Regions from separate parts of the Homo sapiens genome. Here all the other regions are linked to region 3. The links are contacts of gene promoters, found by promoter capture Hi-C in human tissues and cell types (Jung and others, 2019). All regions are on one chromosome and are shown on one strand. Each heading gives the region's core, a stretch centred on a gene start or on the middle of the fragment in contact. The rest is flanking DNA. Distances are from core to core; before and after follow the strand shown. Region 1 overlaps ZNF616 (zinc finger protein 616). Region 2 overlaps ZNF845 (zinc finger protein 845). Region 3 holds the start of ZNF600 (zinc finger protein 600).

What was found. The method cuts DNA at HindIII sites, captures the fragments that hold promoters and counts their contacts. A contact is called where the count stands out against the background at its distance.
Region 1: a contact is called between a fragment that was not itself captured here and the fragment with the promoter of ZNF600 in region 3, in 1 of the 25 tissues and cell types used here (dorsolateral prefrontal cortex).
Region 2: a fragment that was not itself captured here is called in contact with the fragment with the promoter of ZNF600 in region 3 in 2 of the 25 tissues and cell types used here (dorsolateral prefrontal cortex and hippocampus).

The regions. Positions count from the first base shown.
Region 1 is chr19:52,125,531-52,128,230 of GRCh38, reverse strand. All of the region lies in intron 2 of ZNF616 (zinc finger protein 616), which reads left to right. Among named protein-coding and RNA genes, the nearest start is that of ZNF616, 13 kb to the left of the region's middle. The HindIII fragment of the contact is 6,561 bases long and covers 1-2,700 here.
Region 2 is chr19:53,353,416-53,356,115 of GRCh38, reverse strand. ZNF845 (zinc finger protein 845) reads right to left here. Exons shown (of 4, transcript NM_138374.3): 4 at 1-2,700. The coding sequence ends at 2,528. It also overlaps the pseudogene LOC107987264. Among named protein-coding and RNA genes, the nearest start is that of ZNF525, 11 kb to the left of the region's middle. The HindIII fragment of the contact is 6,579 bases long and covers 1-2,700 here.
Region 3 is chr19:52,785,498-52,788,197 of GRCh38, reverse strand. ZNF600 (zinc finger protein 600) reads left to right here and starts at 1,407. Exons shown (of 6, transcript NM_001321866.4): 1 at 1,407-1,603. RefSeq lists a silencer at 1,249-1,398 and enhancers at 731-1,588, 1,589-2,447. The HindIII fragment of the contact is 28,786 bases long and covers 1-2,700 here.

The DNA.
Region 1 (2,700 bases), core at 160-2,659, 660 kb after region 3:
AAATGTAAACAGAACATAGTAGTAAGTTTTTTTTTTTTTTTTTTATTGGGTGGGAAATCCACCCAATATGTGTCGTTGGTGTATGAGGACACCATTGCACCTTAGGGTAGTGGGAAATCTTGCCAGATCCAGGAAAATAGGAAATGCACCATCCTAAAGAGGCAATCACTCTTTCAGTTACCCAACCTGGAGGAACCCGGGTTTCTTTTCCCTGTCACTTTCTCCATCATCCCTCATGTTTCCGTGGGGAGCTACAGTTGTAAGTTCTGTGGCAAGAGTCAGTGAGAGGTGTCAAGATGCATTTACGTGTCATTATGAGATTTTAGAAAACAATTCTTCAGTACATGTTCTGTTGTGAAATTTCATTGTGCCAGTTTTTCAAAGATACATCTTTTTTTGTTAATAAGCAGTAATAGCTTGTTTTGCATCCTCTTTGGAACAATCTCTAAATGAAGACATATGGATCTTTTATAATTTTTCACCATGGCTGCCACAATGCTCTCTTCACCACAGGTGTTTGAGGGTTCCTTCAGGTTGGACAGTTTAAAGAGTGGTTGCTTCTGTTAGGACGCTATACCACAAAAGCAAAAATAAATAACTGATCTTTCTTTGGAAGGCCTGGCTCGCTGTGTGATTATAAAATACTGTGTTTTTTTAAGATCTAATATTTTGTTGCTTACATTTTATTTGCTTGAATCTTTAATTTGAATTTTTCTGTATATCTTGTTGTAGATTATATTTGATTATAAAGTTTTAGATTATAAATAACATAATAGGTTCACAAGTAGATTGGCAAACCCCTCCATTTTCTTTCCAAAATTATTATGGTTCTCCTTTTACACAACACAGCCACATATTATTTAAATTCCACATATTGGCCGGGTGTGGTGGCTCACACCTGTAATCCAGGCACTTTGGGAGGCCAAGGTGGGTGGATCACCTGAGGTCAGGAGTTCAAGACCAGCCTGGCCAACATGGTGAAACCCTGTCTCTACTGAAAATACAAATATTAGCCGGACATGATGGTGCACGTCTTTAATCTTAGCTACCTGGGAGGCCGAGGCAGGAGAATCCCTTGAACTTGGGAGGTGGAGGTTGCAGTGAGCTGAGATCGTGCCACTGCACTCCTGCCTGGGTGACAGTGAGACTCTGTCTTCTAAAAAAAAAAAAAATTCCCACATATTTTGTTTGTGTTTTCATGGCTCTGAATTTTTTCAGTTGCAGGCCTTTATGTCACCATGTCTTCCAAAAAGAATCGAGTTTGTCAGTCTTTGATAATATCTTTATTATGTCTTTCATTAAAGCTTGTTTGCTTATGTAAAGTTCAGTAATGTTAGATATATTCACATTATTTGTTGGACTCCCAGAATGCATATGTTCTTGGTGCTTGATGGTTTTTCATGGGCCCATTAGACTCTCTTCATTTTCTTTATTTTATTTAATTATTTATTATTTATTTTTTGAGATGGAGTCTCGCTCTGTCGCCCAGGCTGGAGTGCAGTGGCATGATCTCGACTCACTGCAACCTCTGCCTCCTGGGTTCGGGCAATTGTCCTGCCTCAGTCTCCCTGAGTAGCTGGGACTACAGGCACGTGCCACCACACCTGGCTAATTTTTGTATTTTTAGTAGAGACGGGGTTTCACCGTGTTGGCCAGGCTGGTCTTAAACTCCTGACCTCAGGTGATCTGCCTACCTTCGCATTTTCTTTATTTTTGGAGACAGAGTCACACTCTATTGCCGAGGCTGGAGTGCAGGGGTGGGATCTCAGCTCACTGCAACCTCTGCCTCCTGTTCAAGCAATTCTCATGCCTCAGCCTCAGATTACAGGCATGTGCCACCATGCCTGGCTAATTTTTGTATTTTTAGTAGAGATGGGGTTTCATAATGTTGGCCAGGCTGGTCTCGAATTCCTGCTCTGAAGTGATCTTCCTGCCTGGCGTTCTGAAAGTCCTGGGATTACAGTTGTGAGCAATCATGCCCGGCCCACATTTCTTTTTAATTCTTCAAAGCCAAGATGTAAATTGCCATTTCTTTCATGTAGGTTTGTACAGATTCAGTTGGTTTCTTTTTGTAGACCGTATTTCCCTGTTTCTTTGTATGTTTTATTGTCTTCTTTTGTGACTTCAGCATTTGAAAAAATCAGCTGCCTGCCCAGATTTGGTGGCTGCTTTGTTCAGGGAGGACATTCCAATCAACTACCCTAGATTCTGGAGACTTCCCATGCTTTTTCTCTGGGCCTTTGCTTGTCATCTCCCTATTGAAGAGGTTTGCTGCTTTCTACTCAGAAGCTCCCCTATTTTCTGTACTATTGTGGATAGACTCTGGTACTGCAGATATCTGTGGTACTAGATCTTCACCCTCATGTCTTTCTGTGTTATTGCAGACACCGGTTTACGTCAGTTATCTTTTTGCTCAGTGGCCCCTAACCTTTCATCCTGTTCCTTTCAGTGCTACCACAGGAGGTCACCACTAAGGCAATTCTCAGCCTAGCCATGGAGGCAGGGACACCTTAGAGAGTGCTTATTAGGGCAAGGTCAAGGGGAGCCCTGGAAGCAGGACCACGCCTGAGACCCCAGAACTGTAGAGTCACCAGTATGTGATCCCAGCTCGGGAAACCACAGCCTGTGAGAAGTTCCATGTGGGTGATCCCAACAAAACTAATGGGGCAGGGATCCCCAGGACACTGGGGACCTAACTCC
Region 2 (2,700 bases), core at 145-2,644, 570 kb before region 3:
TATTTTGGTACAAAAAGTGTGAAATTTATGCACAAATTTTTCATAATATGTATTTTTCCATGAACTTCTTGAAGACCCTTATACTAGCAAACTGTATTCAAGAGGATATAAAAAGGGATTGTAAACATCCAAGTGCTACCTATTCATGGGATGCAAGGATGGTTCAACATACTCAAATCAATGGGATACACACTTGCACAGAATGACAGATAAAAAACACATTATCTCAATAGATAGAGAAAAAGCATTTCACAGAACTCAATATTCATTCTTCGTAAAAATCCTAAACAATATAGGTAGAGTTTTACCTCAAAAATATAAAAATCATCCATGAAATGACCACAGCTGAAATAACCAATGAAGGAAAATGGAATGGTTTTCCTGTAGGATATCACATGATGCAAGAATGCTCTCACCCCTGATATTCAATAAATACTGGCTGTCCTAGGCAGAGCAATTAAATAGCAAAAGAAATAAAACTCATCCAAATCAGAAAGACAGAAGTAAAATTACATTTGTTGGGGCCGGGCTCATGGCTCACACCCATAATCCCAGCAATTTGCAAGTCCGAAGTGGGCGGATAATGAGGTTAGGCGATCTAACATATTCTTTCAAGTTCTCTTCAAGGTACTCACCATGTTGGCCCACCATCTGGGCCAACATGGTGAAACCCCGTCTTTACTAAAATAAAAAAAATAAATAAATTAGCTAGGTGTGGTGACATGCGCCTGTAGTCCCAGCTACTCAGGAGGCTGAGACAGAATTGCTTGGACGTGGGAGACAGAGGTTGCAGTGAGCAAAGATCATTCCACGGCACTCTAGCCTGGCGACAGAGAGAGACATTGTCTCAAAAAAAAAAATTATTTCCTTGTAGATGATACGACATTCTATATAGAAAATCACTGGCTGGGTGCGGTGGCTCACACCTGTAATCCCAGAACTTTGGGATGCTGATGGGGGCGGATCACCTGAAGTCAGGAGTTCAAGAAAAACCTGGTCAACATGGTGAAACCCCGTCTCTACTAAAAATACAAAAAAATTATACGGACATGGTGGCAGGCACCTGTAATCTCAGTTAGTAGGCAGGAGAATCACTTAAACCCGAAAGGCAGAGGCTGCAGTGAGCCAAGATCGTGCCATTGTACTCCAGTCCAAGTGACAAGAGTGAGACTCCTTCTCAAAAAAAAAGAAAAGAGCCTGGGTAACAGAGTGAGACTGTCTCAAAAAAAAAAGAAAGAAAATCACAAAGAATCAACCAAGATTTTACTGATACTAATAAACCCACTCAATGTATTTGCAGAATACAAAATCAGCACCCAAAATTAGTTGAATTTCCTTACATTAACAATAAATAATGTTTAAAGAAACTTATGAACACACTTCAATTTGCTATGAAACTTAATACTTACAAATAAACTGAATTAAGGAGGTGAGAAGCTTGTACCTTGAAATCTACATTGATCAAAAAAACTAAATAGACATACAACCCATATTGATGGATTGGAAGTCTTAATATTGTTGAATGATTATACAAACAAATGTGATTTAGATTCAACAGATACCCATAAAAACCCGTAACAGTTTTTATTAAAGAAACAAAATACAGGGTGGGAAAAGTGACTCATGTCTGTTGGCCAGTCTGGTCTCAAACTCCTGACCTCAAGTGATCTATTGGTCTTGGCCTCCCAAAGTGCTGGGATTACAGGCGTGAGCCACCCCGCCTGGCCCAATCTTCTTAACATAAACACTTTAATGTCAATTAATGCTTGAACTCAATGTTAAGTCAATTCAAACTCAAGTCAATGCTGAATTGACTCTAATGCCAATTAATGCTTGATGGTTTGCTATACTCATTGCATTTGGAACAATCATCTCAAAAATGAATTTTCTGATGTTCCTTAAGGGGTGATCTCAGACTGAAGACCTTGCCACACTGATGACATTTGTAAGATTTCTGTCCAGTATGGATTCTCTGATGTCTAATTAGGTGTGAACGTGAAGTAAAGGCTTTGCTGCAATCATCATACTTGTGAAGTTTGTCTCCTGTATGAAGTCTCCTGTTTTGCATAAGATGAAGCTAGACTGAAGACCTTGCCACAATCATGACATTTGTAAGGTTTCTCTCCAGCATGAGTTCACCGATGAACTGCAAGGTATGAACAATGTCTGAAAAATTTGCCACATTTATTACACTTTCAAAATCTCTCATTATGGATTCTCCAATGATTTGAAACGGTTGTAGTGTTACTGAAGACTTTGTGATAATCATTACATTAGTAAAGTTTCCCTATACCATGGATTGCCTGATGGTGAATAAGTGTTGACTGCCCACTAAAGGCTTTGCCACACTCAGTACACTTGTAAGGTTTCTCTCCAGTGTGACTTCTAGTTTGTTGGGCCAGGTGTGAATCACGCCCAAGATTCTTGTCACAAACTCTTACATTTGTAAGCTTTCTCTCCAGTATGAATTCTCCTGTCTTTCAAGACTTGATTTACAACTGTAAACTTTGTCACATTCTTCATATTTCTAATGTTTCTTTCCAGTATGAATTCTATGATGACGTGCAAGTTTTGCTTTTCGATTAAAAACCTTGCCACATTCATTACACTTGTAAGGTTTCTCTCCAGTATGAATTGTCTTATGAATTACAAGGACTGAATTGTGACGGAAGGTTTTGCCACACTCATTACACTTGTAAG
Region 3 (2,700 bases), core at 158-2,657:
CTTGTCATCTTCACTTAAATTCCATCTTCTATAACCTAGTGACATGAGCTTGGGAAGAGGCTGCACTGGGCATGGTCCTGGGAAGGGCTCACACCAGAGATGGATGGAGATGGGGTGTGGACCCCAAGGTGTCAGTGATATTGGGCAGCAGGGATTGTTCAGGGGCCACATCTGGATGCACATTTAGCTCTTTGTGGATCAGATCAGAGAATCTATGTATGAAAGTCATACATTAATGTATGCACTGGTATCTGTGTACTGGTATCTGGTAAATTCTGGAAAAGGAGACAAACTAGGGGAGATATTTCTTTTTCTTTTTCTTTTTCTTTTTTTTTTTTGAGACGTAGCCTCGCTCTGTCGCCCAGGCTGGAGTGCAGTGGCACGATCTTGGCTCACTGCACGCTCCGCCTCCCGGGTTCACTCCATTCTCCTGTCTCAGCCTCCCTAGTAGCTGGGATTACAGGCACCCACCACCACGCTTGGCTAATTTTTTTGTATTTTTTAGTAGAGATGGGGTTTCACTGTGTTAGCCAGGATGGTCTCGATCTCCTGACCTCATGATCTGCCCGCCTCAGCCTCCCAAAGTGCTGAGATTACAGGTGTGAGCCAGCGCGCCCGGTCTTGTTTTTGTTTGGGTTAGGCGGGCTCCTGTAGTTCCAGTTACTCGAAAGGCTGAGGCAGGAGAAGGGCGTGAACCCGGGAGGCGGAGCTTGCAGTGAGCCAAAATCGTGCCACTGCACTCCAGCCTGGGCGACACAGCGAGACTCCGTCTCAAAAAAAAAAAAAAAAAAAAAAAGTAAAAGAGCGAGAGAGAGATCAGGAAGAGGACCCTGCAGTTAGGGGGTGTTACTTTGTCGCCCAGGATGGCCTGGACCCCCAGGTTCAGGGATTCTCCCGCCGCTGCTTCCTGAGTAGCTGGGACCTCAGGCTTCCGCCTCGTGCCCGCATCCCTGCTGTGTTTAGGCAGCAGGTGGTGACCTCACTCCTCCCTGGCCTGAGCTCTCCGTCCCGCATCCCAGGCGGAGGCCCTAGGGAACACTTTGAAGCTGAGCACGGGGTGGACCCTCCCTCCTGAGTGAATGGAGAATAGAAAGGGAGAGGATTTCTGTTCTGTTCTGTGGGCCATCAGCATGAAATCGTATGTTCCGCCCTGGCAGGGCTTTGCATTTCACATTCTAGTTTGCATTCCCGTTCCAGATAATTCCAGGGCTTTTGAATCATGCCTCAGCCTTCCTGGCCGCTGTCGCCTCCAAAAACTCGAAAAACAGAGGCGCTGAGTGCGAGGCTGAGAAGCACAGGTCCCGCCCCGGGCCCTCCCTCTGCCGGTTCTAAAGGGCAAGGTCTCTCCGCCTGGGGCCCCGCCTCTACCCCGCCCAGGTCCAGCCAACCTGCCCCGGCCTGGCTTCAGTCCTGGGCGCGCACAAACCCGGAAGCGGATCGCGTGGAGTGAAGGTCCTACCACGGCGCGTGAGTTTTGCTCTGCCTTGGATTAAGTCTGCACTTCCCAGGTCCCCGGCGCTTCTGCCCCTGGGACGTGGGATCCCCACGGACCTGGAAATTCTCGCCTGTCTTCCCTTCACCCAGAGCAAATTGAGACGTCCCGGTAAGAGTCTGGAAGTTGCTTGCTTTTGGGTTTGAAGTCGCTCGGAGGCTGGTCCCGTCCCCGGTCTTTCTGCTATAGGGCAATGTATACACTTCCTATCGCGTATTTTTCCTGCTCAAAACATTTTTCTGACTATTCCCGCCCCGTGCTTTTTAAAGTCCTCACCCGCGAGGTGGATTCCAGCCCTGGGCGCCTCCCAGCCTCGCCCCAGTTGGCACCTGGAGCGCGGCGCCCCGGCCCCAGCCCCGGGGAGGCTGCGTCCTCTGCCTGGTCCTGGGATCCTGCAGGTCCCACCTTTGTCTTAGGGTGCCGTCGCCCACCACGTCCCTCCTGGTGCCGGGCCCTGCTGCTCCCCAAGTCTTCGCTTCCCCTGAGCCAGGGTTGGGGTGGGTCGCAGGGGCTTGTCCTATGATACCAGGTGTTCTTTCCTGTCCAGCTCCACCCCCTGGAAAATGCGCTTCTACGGGATGCAGGCGTCTTACTCCAAACCCGCCTGTGATTACTCCAAACCCGCCTGGGCCAAAGGGATCAGGAGATAGAGAGAGGGACTGAGAGAGCAGTAGAAAACCAGAGACAGAGAAAAGAAGAATGAGAAAGGCCCATAACAGATGGCAAAGTAGAGGATGGGTTAGGAATTTGCCAAGAGACAGCAAAAGTGAAAGAAAAAAAACTAAGAAAGCAGGAGGAGAAAAGCAACTGGAGAAATGTAGAGAAAAGCTAGATGTACAGAAAGATGAAGGACAGCAAGGTAGGGAGAGGGGCAGCAAAGAGGGAGGCTCACCAGAGTGAGGGAGAGGAGGAGGGATTTGGAGCCAGGGCAGACAGAGCAGAGTGGTGCTGGTGGCAAGAACAGATGGAGAACCACAGCAGGGAGGACACCTGGGGATCTGAGGTGCTGGAGAGTGGGGACAGAGGGGTATAACAGGGAAGAGAGAATTTAATAGGGAGAGCAGAGGAGACGGAGAGATAAGAGAAGAGGCTGTAATATATAGACATTGAGGAAGATTGAAAGATTGGGGAGAAAGAACAACAAGAGGTTAAATAAGGACCGGGCGCTGTGGGTCATGCCTGTAATCCCAGCATTTTGGGAGGCTGAG